Linked DNA regions of Homo sapiens: regions 1 and 3 are each linked to region 2. The links are contacts of gene promoters, found by promoter capture Hi-C in human tissues and cell types (Jung and others, 2019). All regions are on one chromosome and are shown on one strand. The core of a region is centred on a gene start or on the middle of the fragment in contact, and the rest is flanking DNA. Distances in the headings are between cores, read along the strand shown.

The links. Contacts are between HindIII fragments. The study calls those that stand out against the background at their distance.
Region 1: a fragment that was not itself captured here is called in contact with the fragment with the promoter of IPO13 in region 2 in 2 of the 25 tissues and cell types used here (adrenal gland and lymphoblastoid cells).
Region 3: a fragment that was not itself captured here is called in contact with the fragment with the promoter of IPO13 in region 2 in 1 of the 25 tissues and cell types used here (dorsolateral prefrontal cortex).

The regions. Positions count from the first base shown.
Region 1 is chr1:43,292,809-43,297,454 of GRCh38, forward strand. No RefSeq gene overlaps it. Among named protein-coding and RNA genes, the nearest start is that of TIE1, 5.8 kb to the right of the region's middle. The HindIII fragment of the contact is 6,034 bases long and covers 1-4,646 here.
Region 2 is chr1:43,944,118-43,948,521 of GRCh38, forward strand. IPO13 (importin 13) reads left to right here and starts at 2,833. Exons shown (of 20, transcript NM_014652.4): 1 at 2,833-3,567. The coding sequence starts at 3,484. LOC101929609 (a long non-coding RNA gene) reads right to left here and starts at 2,482. Exons shown (of 2, transcript NR_188535.1): 1 at 2,364-2,482; 2 at 238-679. RefSeq lists a silencer at 2,629-2,878. The HindIII fragment of the contact is 10,546 bases long and covers 1-4,404 here.
Region 3 is chr1:42,950,857-42,955,057 of GRCh38, forward strand. All of the region lies in intron 1 of SLC2A1 (solute carrier family 2 member 1), which reads right to left. It also overlaps the pseudogene ATP6V0CP4. Among named protein-coding and RNA genes, the nearest start is that of SLC2A1, 5.9 kb to the right of the region's middle. RefSeq lists enhancers at 1-15, 1,550-1,619, 1,742-2,036, 2,270-3,214. The HindIII fragment of the contact is 4,431 bases long and covers 1-3,948 here.

The sequences.
Region 1 (4,646 bases), core at 906-3,405, 650 kb before region 2:
ATCGCACCACTGCACTCCAGCCTGGAAATGAGACTCTGTCTCAAAAAAAAAAAAAAAAAAGGAACTGGTGTTAACACTTTCCACTCTGTGTACAGGGACCTCTGTTCTGTTGTAAGCAGATGCCCCTTTTGAATCGGTAGAGGACACCTTCCTTCTCTTTGTAAGCCTCTGGAGGAAGGCTGCCCATTTCCCAGGCTTCCGGCCTCTTCCAGCCCCAGCCTCCCAGAGAGGAATTAGCCCCTTCTTGGGACTTAGGACTGTCCTTAGGGACACCACACTCTTCCTCCTTCATTCAAACTCCACCTTCCCAGAAGGCTGCCTTTCCCTATTCCTAGTCTGCCCTCCCTGACCTCCTAGACATGCCCTGGCATTGGAAGTCCCACTGAGGGCTGTGCTTGAAGCTTGGTGAAAACGAGCCCTCTGAGCCAGTTATCCCTAAGAAGTCACAGTTCCCTGAGTCAGCTCAAAGGATCTATCCTCAGTGGAGCTTCCCAGGAGACTGAGACTAAGGAATGTTTTGAGACACATCTTCTAAGGTTTCCTCACTTCTTCAGGAGGAGACCAGCCTATCCAGGGCCATGTATGCCATGAAACCCTGAGGGCGAGAGCTCACCAATCCTCATGGGTCACCAACCACACCACCCTGAAACTCCAGTGTGATTATGTCATGGAGCTGCCACATGGGATCTAACCTCAGGTTCATGGGACAATTTCTTCCCAAGCCACCAGCTCCACCTCACTACATCTGACCTAGGAAGATAATTAGATATCACACATGCATGGTGTAACGATGGCAGTCTATGAATCCCCTTGGTTATTATCTCTGGGGTAGCCAGGTCTCGCAAGAACAGAGCTCAGCAGGCCTGCCAGGGACTACCACACCCTCTCCTGAGGATGTCGTGTCCATGCAGCTGGCCAGAGGCCGTAGACCCACTGGACAGAGCTGCCCCACCACGCTGCCCCTCCCAGCCCTGCCTGCCTGGGCCCCAGCAATACCAACGGTCATCTCTGCCACATTCTTGCTTTCTCATGGGGGCCCTGTTAGAAACGGGAAGGGAGGAAAGCTGGTGCCCACCTGAGACCCCCAGCTCTGAGACTCCAGGGGTGTTGGAGCAGTTCCCATAGAGAAATCCTCTGGGGGCAGGCACCACTTAAGTCTGTAGGAGAGGTCTCTCCCCAGGGGAGCAGGAAGCCCACACCTGTGTGCTGGTGCCATAGTTCACTCCAACTCCCCAGTGGGAGCCAGTGTCCCTTCCTTAGGGTGCGGGCAAGGGTGGAGCTGGCAAAGCACCAATATGCCTTCAGGGAGAAAGGGCTAGGGAAAGAGGAGTTGAGACACTGCCTTCAAGCCTTTCCTCATCATCCCTGTGTCACCACGAAATAAATCATGCATCATGAGCACTAATGGACTTGTGTTGTCACTACCTCTTATCCTCAAAGTAAGATTGAAGCCAGGGGTGGTAGCACACACCTATAGTCCCAGCTACTCAGGAAGCTGAGGTGGGAGCATTGCTTGAGCCCAGGAGTTCGAGGCTGCAGTGAGCTATGATTGCGCCACTGCACTCCAGCCTGGGTAATAGAGCGAGACTCTGTCTCTAAAGTAATAGTAATAATAATAATAATAATAAATAAACAAAGTAAGATTGAACAACCAGAAAGCAGCCCCCATGTGTGGCTCCTGCAAAGAATGCGTGGCTGTGGCCCGAGCCAGCTTTGTCTCATAAAATGTGTTTTGTATGCTAAGTAGGCTGCTGTTGTTTGAGGCAGAAGAACAATGAGTCACTTGTGTCATGTGCTATTGGGTGTGCTATTCTTCTAGGATTTCAGAGTGACCTGAGCTAAAGCAAGGACCTGATGGAACTTAAAGGCAAGACATCCTTAAAATTCATGCCTGCCCATCTCTCCTGGTCAGCCCTTGCCTTTTAAAGGGCACCACTCCATCATCACACAGCACAGAGTTGAGCTCATTGTTTTCCAGAATAAAATTTCAGATGCATGCTGGATACAAAAGGATTGTTTTTCTTCAATCATTTTTAAGAGTTTGAAGGATGACATGCAGATGAAAGCAGCCTCCCTGGGTGTGCTGGCCTTCTTCCTGTCTAGGTAGTATAGTCTAACAGGCCTTGGGCATAGTTAAGCTCTCTGGCTGTGGATCAAACTGTCTGGGGTCAAAGCTGAACACCATCACTTAACTAACCTGAGGATGCATCTGTTTCCTCATCTGCAAAATGGGGATCATAATAATGACACCCGGCTGGGTGCGGTGGCTCACGCCTGTCATCCCAGCACTTTGGGAGGCCAAGGAGGGCGGATCACCTGAAGTCGGGAGTTCGAGACGAGCCTGAGCCCGACCAACATGGAGAAACCCCATATCTACTAAAAAAAAATACAAAATTAGCCTGTAATCCCAGCTACTCAGGAGGCTGACGCAGGAGAATGGCTTGGACCCAGGAGGTGGTGGTTGCAGTGAGCCGAGATTGTGCCATTGCACTCCAGCCTGGGTGACAGAGCGAGACTCCATCTCAAAATAACAATAATAATAATAATAATAATAGTGACACCCATCTCAAAAGGCTGAGAGTCCATGAGGTGTAGGCATCACCTTTTCCCGGCACCTGTAAACCCGTAGCAACTGTTAGCCATTATAATTGAGGTTTGTTGGTGTTCTAGCATAAGACTCTGCATTGCTGGGTAAATTCCATTCTGACCAAAGTGGGTAAAAGTTTGTTATGCTTTACTAAGTACACTCTGAGCTTCTAACTGCCTGAACCCTATGTGGGTGTTGATTTCAGTTTCTGACCTCACAGGACTCCTCTGGGCCAAATGGCCTTTGTCAAGCAGTTTCTATAAAAGGGACTTCTTTCAGAGCCTTGTTGAATTAACTGGGGCTTCCTTTAAATAAGGGCTTGTTTTTAGAAGCTTTCTTTTTCCAACAAGGAAAAGAACACAATGGATTCCAAGTAATCTCCAGTCCTCATCACAGCTTGTCACAAACACCTGGCACGTCTTTTCTGACTAGAGTGAAAACACACACACACACACACACACACACACACACACACACACACACACACACTAGCTTCAGGGACACAGCCTCAGCCTGATGCTCCAAAAGCATTTACTGCAAACTTCCTCTCACTACAGAGTTATTTCCTGGAAGAACAACAAAAACTGTTTTTGAATTGACAATGTGGCTTTAGTTGCTGCTGAAGTTAAGTGAAAGTACCAACCATTGTTACTATTAACCTAAACAAAATCTTAAAAGAATTACTTTCTTTTTCTTTTCTTTTTTTTGGACAACAACAAGAACAAGATATTTTTCCTTTCTTTGCTGATCAGTATGAAGAATGATTTATCAGTAAAGTCAATTTCAGGCAAAGGCAGAACTTAGGAATTGGGTTAAAGTGTTGCTTATTTCAACCAAAAGAAAACTTTCTAATTTGTTTGGGCAGCATTTACTTGGTTCTTCGAAAAGCAATTGTGACAAACAGTACAGAGAGTTAAGGCACTTATTGGCATATAAAAAGATGCCAGCATTTGGAGTTGCACATAACAAAGAAATATCTTAAATACTTTTCAAAATATTCTAGGAGCCAAGACACAAGGGCATGCTTCAGGAGAACACAGGAATGTAATTTGGGAGGAAAATTGCAACTACCCCTTCCCTTTAAAATCACTGAGCAAAACAAAGCAGCATTCTACTTCACATACTGACTTTACATAGTTTATATATAATAGTTTGACTTTAAGAAGCAAAGATGGGACTCTCACTGTTTATCTTTTATTTATTCTTTTTTATTTTTTGAGACAAAGTCTCACTCTGTCACCCAGGCTGGAGTGCAATGGCATGATCTCAGCTCACTGCAACCTCTGCCTCCTGGGTTCAAGCAATTCTTGTGCCTCAGCCTCCCAAGTAGCTGGGACTACAGGCGCGTGCTACCACATCTGGTTAATCTTTTTGTATTTTTAGTAGACATGGGGTTTCACTATGTTGGCCAGGGTGGTCTTGAACTCCTGGCCTCAGGCGATCTGCCTGCCTCGACCTCCCAAAGTGCTGGGATTACAGGCATGAGCCACTGTGCCGGGCCTCTCACTATTTTGAAAAATAATTGCATGGTCACCCATGTAACCCACCCCAGTCTGGCAAGTTTAATTGGGAGAGGTCTCCGTTACTTAGAAGAGTACCAATTTGACACTTTAATTCAGATAGCCCTGACTTCATTTTTGGGGAGCAACTTAGAGAGGTTCATTCTTTCCCCCCTGACTCATCCTCTGTTGATCCAGTCCCGAATTTCACCAGCTTTTTTATGCATAATTTGCATAACAATTTCACCCAAATGGATCTCAACTGAGCATCATTTCTGCAAGAAGACTATGGAGTTTGTCTATAGAGAAAATTAAATCAAATTCATAGACATTTTTAAGAGTCTGTCAAATGTTTCCACATGTATTTACATGTGGTCTAAAACCCTAAGGGCATTGTAAGAAGCCACACAAAAGACCCAAATGAATGTTCTAAGGGGCATAAAGCAGTTTGTTGTCTGAGCCACCTGTTAAGGGAAATGAGTGGAACTTGGAGAGTCAGGCTTTCCTGTCCCTCTTGATCATGACGGTCACTTGGAGAACAGTGAGTCCAACCCGCTGGG
Region 2 (4,404 bases), core at 1,583-4,082:
CTTCCCAAGTAGCCGGGACTACAGGTGCCCGCCACCACACCAGGCTAACTTTTGTATTTTTAGTAGAGACAGGGTTTCACCGTGTTAGCCAGGCTGGTCTCGAACTCCTGACCTCGTGATCCACCCACCTCAGCCTCCCAAAGTGCTGGTGGCATGAGCCACTGCGCCCGGCCTCCCGCTGAGAATTCTTAACTGCAAGCAGGCAGTCGTCTGGTTTTGCAGACCAAATTCACATGATTTTGGTAGGCTGAAAAACTTCAAAGTGATCATTTAATTTGACATGAACATGGATTGGTAGTGGTTCCAGGTGACCAACAAAAGCTCCCTCTCCTCCTCTGCTGAGTTTTGGGATGTTCCCTCCTGAATCTGCAGACCTCTCCCAGGGTTGCCACAGGTTCTTGCCCCTATAGGTCTACACTTGTTCCTTAGAGAAGAAAGAGCCCTTCTGGCTCCCAAAGACTTATCTGCCACTTGGCTCTGAGCTATCCTGCACTAACATCCAAATCTCCTGGAGATCACCTTTGGTCTGGCCTCCGGAAATGCCCCCAACTCTCCCCAGGGCCTACTTCAGTCCATCTGTCCTAAATAGTGTTTGCAAAGGATGTTCAGGAGTCATTGCTGTGAGACTGGGCTTCTTTCTCTGCCAGATCCCTGGAACCTCCAGGGATGAGGAGGAGCCCTGGATGGGAAGCAGGAAGAAAACACATACTGACTAAGTTGTGGTCTCTGGGCTGAGCCCCCCACCCCTAAAACCCCTTAACTAAAATGAGTTTCAGAAGAAGCTAAGGTCTCATTGCTAGAAAGAGGCATAAACAGGTTTTGAACTCAGGACTAAGTCCAGAATTTGTGCATTTAAACCCCACTCCCAACACCATCTCCCCTGCCCACCACCACCTCCACCAGTGAAACCGCCAGCCAGCACCAGGCCCAAGGTATTTCACACCCTAGGCACAGGCCTGGAATCAGTTACTTTATTTTGGCTTTCTATTTCCTCCTTCCAAATGTCTCCTGCCTCTCTTTCTTCCTTCAATTTGTCTTTCATGTTGCAGATTTTTCTAAAATGCAAATGTAATCATCATTGCTCACTTGAAACCCCATCATGGTTTCATATTGCACTTAGGATAATGTCCAAACTCCTACAAGAATCTATTGCCACCAACTTGTCTTTCCAACCTCATCTCTGTTACTCATACCCTTCCCCTTCCCCACCCCACATATATTCTCTTAAAATGAATATAAATTACTTACTATTCTTTCTTTTCTTTTCTTTTTTTTTTTTAGACGGAGTCTCACTCTGTCGCCCAGGCTGGAGTGCAGTGGCGTGATCTCAGCTCACTGCAAGCTCCACCTCCCGTGTTCAAGCCATTCTCCTGCCTCAGCCTCCCGAATAGCTGGGACTACAGGTGCCTGCCACCATGCCCGGCTAATTTTTTGTATTTTTAGTAGAGACGGGGTTTCACCGTGTTAGCCAGGATGGTCTCGATCTCCTGACCTCGTGATCCGCCCGCCTCAGCCTCCCATAGTGCTGGGATTACAGGCGTGAGCCACCGCGCCCGGCCTACTTGCTATTCTTTATTGATGAAGACTTGCTGAATGACTTAGAGTCCTACTGGATTTTGCTTACCAGCTAAATGGGCCCCTCTCCTTCCCAGGCTCTCTATTCTTCAAGCTCAGATCAAGTTTCTCTTCTCAGGGAAGCCTTCATGGACCTTCTCAGGCCTCAGCAGCTGCTGCCAATGCCAGCTTCCAATGCCAGCTTCCTCCATTTGAACAAAACTACGGAGCTCTTTGCACTTTTAATTTTTTCCTCTTCCCTGCTAGGGTAGCTGGCAGGAGTTAATAAACAATAAAATACAACTGGAGGGGTGACAGGCAGGAACTACCGGGGCCTGTGGCAGACCAGATCTATGGCATGGTCTGCCACCCTGTCTGTGTGCCAGGGGCAAGATAAGCCTAACTTTCCCCAAGCTCGATTTCCTCATCTCATCTGAAAATGATGAATAAAAATATCCACCTCAGAGCTATTAAGAAAACTGAACCTAAGGTAAGCAAAGTCCTGCTCCTAGCACTTAAATGTAAGCTACTCTTACTCTAGTTACACATAAAGTTACTTCCAAAAACCTTACGAAATTCCCCGAGCACTGTCCATGGTATGTGGTTTCCCGGTTGCTTATTGGGTGGTCCCGAGAGCCTTCCTTTTTTCCTTCCTGAGGCGTGCCAAGTCCCCTCTCCTCTTCTCTGGGTGGTGCTGACGCCTTCTTCCCAGGCTGCACCTTTGCTGGGCCGGAGGATGCCCCCGGCAGCGGAGCGCCAGAGTGACCAGGCAACCTCCCCAGCCTCCACCCTCTAGCCCGGGCTCCCACCTCCGTCCTCCGGCCCCTCGAGTCACGTCGTCCTACTAAGGAGTTGGGCCGCAGCGCCCCGCGCCGGTCTGACCCGGAATGCCTGCTCGCCGCGGTAGGCCGAGGACAGGCGGGGCTCTGCAGGTCCCCAACCCACGTGCTCCCGGCCTCCTCCGCAGGGCGCCGCCTTCCGGCTAGGCGCAACACGGACTACATTTCCCAGGGTGAACAGCGGCGGGGCCTAGACTCGGCCGCGGCCTGGGGCGGCGAGCCGCTCCACCGCCTGCTCAGGGGAGTGCGAGCTGGCGCGAGGACAGGGCTAAGGACCCGGAATGAGTTTCCGCGCAGTTCCGCTGGGCCGTGCCGGCCTGTACCGGGCCGTGCCGAGCCAGAACTGGCAGGAGTGGGGGCCTGAGTTGGAGGTGCCGGGGACAGGCGCTCGGGGCAGCCCGCGCCTTGCCGAGGTCCCTGCCCCGTCCCGGCCGGCCTGGCTTGTCTTGTCAGTCACTGGGGCGGAGGCAGCGGCTGTAGCGGGGCTGTAGCCGGGCGTTGAGCACAGCGCGGGCCAGGCCGAACGGAAGGGACCTGCCACAGCCCCTCAACTCCACGGACTCTTCGCCCTAGACTAGCGGAGCTGCATCTCCGCGCTTCGTTGGACGCCTCCGTAACCACGAAGGGCTCTCTCTCTCCCGTGACCCTCCAGCCCCATGACCTGTTCATAGCAGCCGAGAGCTCACCCAGGCGGGGGTGTTGTGGGTACAGGCCATCGACCCTGTGACCCCTCAAGAGCCAGGGACTCGGTTTCCCCCGCAGGCCTCCCTCCCCTGTGACTCCCTCCACACAGATTCTGGGGACAGAGCTGTTACCTGCCACTAGGATCCCCGCCTGAGAGCTCCTCACTGACGGCTCCCTCCTCGGAGTCCCCTTCATTGGGTCTCCTAAGAGCACCAATTTTGGTCTCTGGCAAGCCTCCCACCCCCAAACGAGGTGGGGAGGCCTCGGCAGCCATGCCCGCCCTGGGCCCCCCCTCACCCCACCACTCCCTGGGCACCCAAGCCGGGGTCTAGCAGGGGGCCAGCAGCCAAGGGGCTGGGGCAGGAGACAGATCAGGGCCCACCTCCCTGCCAGGGAGGGAGCAAAGATGGAGCGGCGGGAGGAGCAGCCGGGGGCTGCAGGGGCTGGAGCAGCACCAGCCTTGGACTTCACTGTGGAGAACGTGGAGAAGGTATGAGGGCTCTGGGGTGGGCACTCCAGTGACAGAGCAGAAGTTCTGGGGACTGTCACTGATGGCAGAGCTCAGGCCTGGGCTGGGTGCCCGCTGGTATGGTGCCCCCAGAGCACCTGGCATTTGCTCTCTTTCTGGGCAGGCAGTATTGCAGTGCCCTAATGGGCTATTTTTGTCTTTCCTTACAGGCAGGTCCCCTGTGGATAGATACTCTAGGGTCTTGGGATGGTCCCTTCAGGGTGCTGTGACTTAGCCTTCCGTCCAGACTGGCTATGTTCCAGCTCCATGGGAACTGCATGAGCAGTGCAGTAGGAAACTGGGAACCCAGGAGACCTGCAGCTCAGTCTCCTGGAATTATACTGATGCCAAACCATCCTGGACCTGGTTTTGTTGAGCCAAGGGCTCAGAAAATAATCTGGAACTAAAACAATCTGGGTTGTTTTGACTCTTTGGAGAAGGGTCCTTCCTTTATTGGATGGAAGCCAGACCAGTCCTGAGCAGGCAGGCCTGGGGCTGTCTCCCTTTGTTTTGTGCTGAGTCCAAGGGTCCTGGCCCTGCTGGGAGCCTTACAGGGCTCCTCCCTACTCGCCTGCCCACATAGCTCCCTGCCATGGCCCTCCCAGGCTCCCCGACTGCCCAGCCCATCTTTCTGAACTGCCTCTTTGGTTCTTTTCTGTATCTGCTCCCTACAACTTGAAATGCAGGAATGCATGCACCCTGGGATGAATGGGGAGATGGGGCTCCCTTACTTGAAAGCAGGGAATGATGTTCACTTGTTATCCTTAACCCCCGTTTGCCATAACAAACAATGAGGATGCATCTCTTCTGCCTGCTTTG
Region 3 (4,201 bases), core at 483-2,982, 990 kb before region 2:
CCCAACTACTCGGGAGGCTGAGGCAGGAGAATCACTTGAACCCGGGAGGCAGAGGTTGCAGTGAGCCGAGATCGCGCCATTGCACTCCAGCTTGGGCAACAAGAGTGAAACTCCGTCTCAAAAAAAAGTCTCTTCCTCTAAGCTTCAGTTAATTCTCCATAAGAGAGGATCTTCTATGAATAAATGATATTGCTAAGGAAAGATTATGCCTGAATGCATGCTCCCAACACTCTTCTAGTCAATGGAAATTCAGCGATAAAACTATACCAAATCCCTGCCTATGGAACTTGATAGGTTAGTTGAAGGCTGGGGCAGAAAATAAATACATGTAATACATCAGGTGGTGAGTGGTATGAAGAAGGTGATGGGGCTGCTATTTCTTAATCATGGTGGGACATGCCTGTAATGAAGTATTATGCAGCTATTGGAAAGAATGAAACACATCTGTGTTTCACATAACATGTATGTGTTATGAAGAGTACCAGGGTAGATTGTTCAGGGGGGAAAAAAAGCAATAGGATGTACATATTGTGTAAGGAACAGGGAGTTAGTGAACTTGTATAGTGGCACTTGGTTGTATGTGCAGAGAGAAACACTGCCAGTATTTACCTCTAAGGGTTGGTTTGGTGAACAGAATGGGTTGCAAAGAACTATGCAGAAAGTGGGATCCAACTACACAAATATTCTATTTATAGGCATGTATCTACACATGCACAAAGAGAAGTCTTTAGGGTAAACACCAAACTGTCAAAACTAGAAGACACTCTTTCATTTATTATGCTTCTCTGTAGTTGGCTCTGTAACTTCTGAAGCTTTTTTTTAATCCAATTTTTTTTCCAGTCACATCTAAGAACTTTATTGGACACAGCTTGGATGCCAGGACCTGGTAGGCCCCACACACTGCCTGCTAGGCCCTGGACTGTCCAGGGCTGGAGTGAGGGTAGTTCATGCAAGGAAGTGTCAGACCACATGGTAACCCCACAATGCAACACTGTGGTTAGAGACTTTATATAGCTGGGAGATGGAGGGCTGCCCCACAGATGTATGAACAGGTCCAATCTTCCATAAATAAACCTACAGAAGAGAGAAAATTACACTGGAATTCATCCTTAGACGCAGAGTACCCTAGATGGGAGGGGGCATCCTCACTGGTCAGGGGGCCAGGATGGGTGATGAGGGGGCCCAGATATCCACAGCATGGGGCAGGCAGGGGCAAGGATGGGGTCAACAGATGATGGGCATTTGCACTAGGACACTGCATTCACAAGACCAACTACTGAAGGGATATGTGTCTCAGGCTGTTCATTCTGGAATAAGCAGGGGTGATCTTTATATCACATTCTGTGGCTGGTGGGCTCAAAGGCTACTTTGTGGAGAGAATGAGACCATGCAGTGAAAATGAGGATCAGGATCAAGCCCACAAATAGCCCGGGCTTCTAGGCAGCACTGTGTCCCCCACAGTGCTGATGACATAGCTGGCTGCCGGGCCACTCAGGCCCACACTCAGCCTAGCGCTTGGCTGGAGGAGATTCCCGTAGAGGCTGATGCAGTCGATCAGCGAGTTGGGGATAAGGACTTCCATCACCAGGTTGTAGATGGTGATGATGCCAGCCATGACCGCTGGGACACTGGACTTCAGGATCAGCTCCAGCCGCATAAGGGCCAGGGCCACGAGGCAGTGCTGCTCTAGGCTGTGCCACAGACAGCACACAGGGCTGTGGGATGGAGGCAAGGCGAGCCCAGAGCAGAATCTGTTTACCTGGGGCCAGAACCCTCTGGGAATAGCTTCTGCACAGCTGTGAGGGCCACACCCAAGTTATCACACGCAGCAGGGAGCTGAAGGCAGCCCCCACCTAGGGGCAGGAAGTCCTCAAGAAGAACTGCCACAGCTGGGTGATCAAGGAGCCCAGTGTAGCTGTTTGTTTCTTTCCTTGAACTGGGCCCTCCAGCCCAAGAGAGTCCACCTCTTCCTCCAGCAGAGGTGCTTATGGCTAGCTGGCCTGTCTGGGCTCCCACTGTGCTATGAAACCCAATCTGTGCTGCTCAGCACTCCCCAAGCCTGCTGCACAGACCACATGCTCCCCTGGAGCCTCAGTGCCGCTGACCCAGACAGCTAGCTCTCATCCCCAGTACAGCTGAGGACACAAGCTCCAACAAGAAGTGTGGCTGGCCTAAGGTCCAATGGTAGAGCTGTTTCTGATGGAGCCGTTTCCTCCCCACTCCCAAATGCCAGGGCAGGGGGAGATAAACTGGGCTAGGAGACATAGGCAGACTTCCTGTCCAGCAGAGGCCTCAGTAGCCAAAGGCTCCATCAGCTGAGGCCTGGCAAGAGCTCTCTCCCATTCCAGGGTGCAGAAGCCTCAGGGAGGCAAGTCAGTGTGGTCACAAAGAGAGGAGATGCTGTCTTCTTTCTGCCCAGGTTCAAGGCCTGGGAGCCCTGCTCAGTTACTGCAAAACCCTAATGTTTATGCATCAGCTACTGCCAGGCCTGGTGGCTGGAAGACAGAGCCTCAGGCTCCAGTCCACCCCTCCCGTGGAGAGAGGTAACAATTGGAGGCTTGTTAGGGTAGCCAGGGCTGGGCCTGCAGGCCTGGACACAGCCTCTCTGAGCCCATGAATCTGGTCAGGAGGCCTCCCAGCCTCCGCCATCATGGGGACGTCGGTTACCAGACTGCAGACTGAGTGAGCGGCTTTATCACCTTTATGCCCAGGAGTGAGGTGGGGGAAGGGGTGAGGTTGCAGGCCCCAAGCCAACACTGCACACTTTCCTCTTTGTTCCAGGCCTCCCCAGCTTTGCCAGTCTTGGGGAAGCAGGGAGCTGGATGGCTGTACCCTTGGTACTTGAGCAGAGCTCTGGGCCGACACCCCGTGACCAGGAGGCACTGGGCAAAGCTGAGCTCCTTGAAGTCACAAGCTGATTACGGGGGATTTGAGGCTGGCCCAGCTCCGGGGCAAATAGGGTCGAATCCCTGGATGGCTCGGTACTAGACAAGGATCATCTTGGGGCTGTTTACATCATTTGTACACCCAGACTGGCCTTACAAAGGGTCTTTCCACTTAAAATAGCCACTTCTCTAATTTAGGGCACGGGGCCAGTCTCACCACATCCACTGGGGGTAGCCAAGTCTCTATTTACTGAGAAGGAAACCAAGGCTCCAAGGAAAGCCACTTCTTCAAGGTCAGAGTTTAGTGGGAACATCTAGTGTTTTGTTTCCATTCACAGTAGAGTTTCAGTTGTCAAGTTACGTCTAATCCAACTTTCAGGCTCCTATGGCATGGCAAGTCCTGTGTCTGGGGATTCCTGCTCATTTGGGGTGGGTGGAGGATGGCACAGACAGGCATGTGGAGAAGAAAGCATCTTTAAAAAAAAAACACAGCTAGGCCAGGCGCGGTGGCTCACACCTGTAATCCCAGCACTTTGGGAGGCCGAGGTGGGCGGATCACCTGAGGTCTGGAGTTCGAGACCAGCTTGACCAACATGAAGAAACCCCATCTCTACTAAAAAAAAATACAAAAAAATTAGCCGGGCATGGTGGCACATGCCTGTAATCCCAGCTACTCGGGAGGCTGAGGCAGGAGAACCACTAGAACCTGGGAGGCGAAGGTTGTGGTGAGCTGAGATTGTGTCATGGCACTCCAGCCTGGGCAACAAGAGCGAAACTCCGTCTCAAAAATCAAAACAAAACACAGCTCCATAGAACGCCTCAAATCTTTTGTGATAGCCTTATCTCGGACAAATCTCTTCCCTTCTCTGGACTCAATTTCCCCATTTGTCAAATGGAGGGCTGGGCCATGGCTGGAAGGCCCCTCCTGCTCTGGGTTCCTTCCACCCTCTAATGTCATCCTGGAAAGGCTGGCAGCATGTCTTGGGGTGGGAGGCTCAGTGTGTGATCTTGGCAAAGTCATTTTTTATTGGACCATGAGGTCACTGTAACTTGTATCACAGGGCAGTTGTGAGGACCCTTGGAGTTAATGGACATGAATGTCCCTTTCAAACTATCCCAAGGGTGACCCAAATTCAGAAAGGTAGGCAGGAAGCCTAAGGCAAAAAAGCAAAGCAAAGAAGCCCAAAGCAGCGCAGGGCACTCACATGAGCTGACCCTCCCTGGCCTGGCACTCTCACCCATGTGCCATGCCTACTCACTTCCCAACAAGCCCCTACTAGGAAGAATGGGTTAGTGGGAGCTTTAATGATTTACCT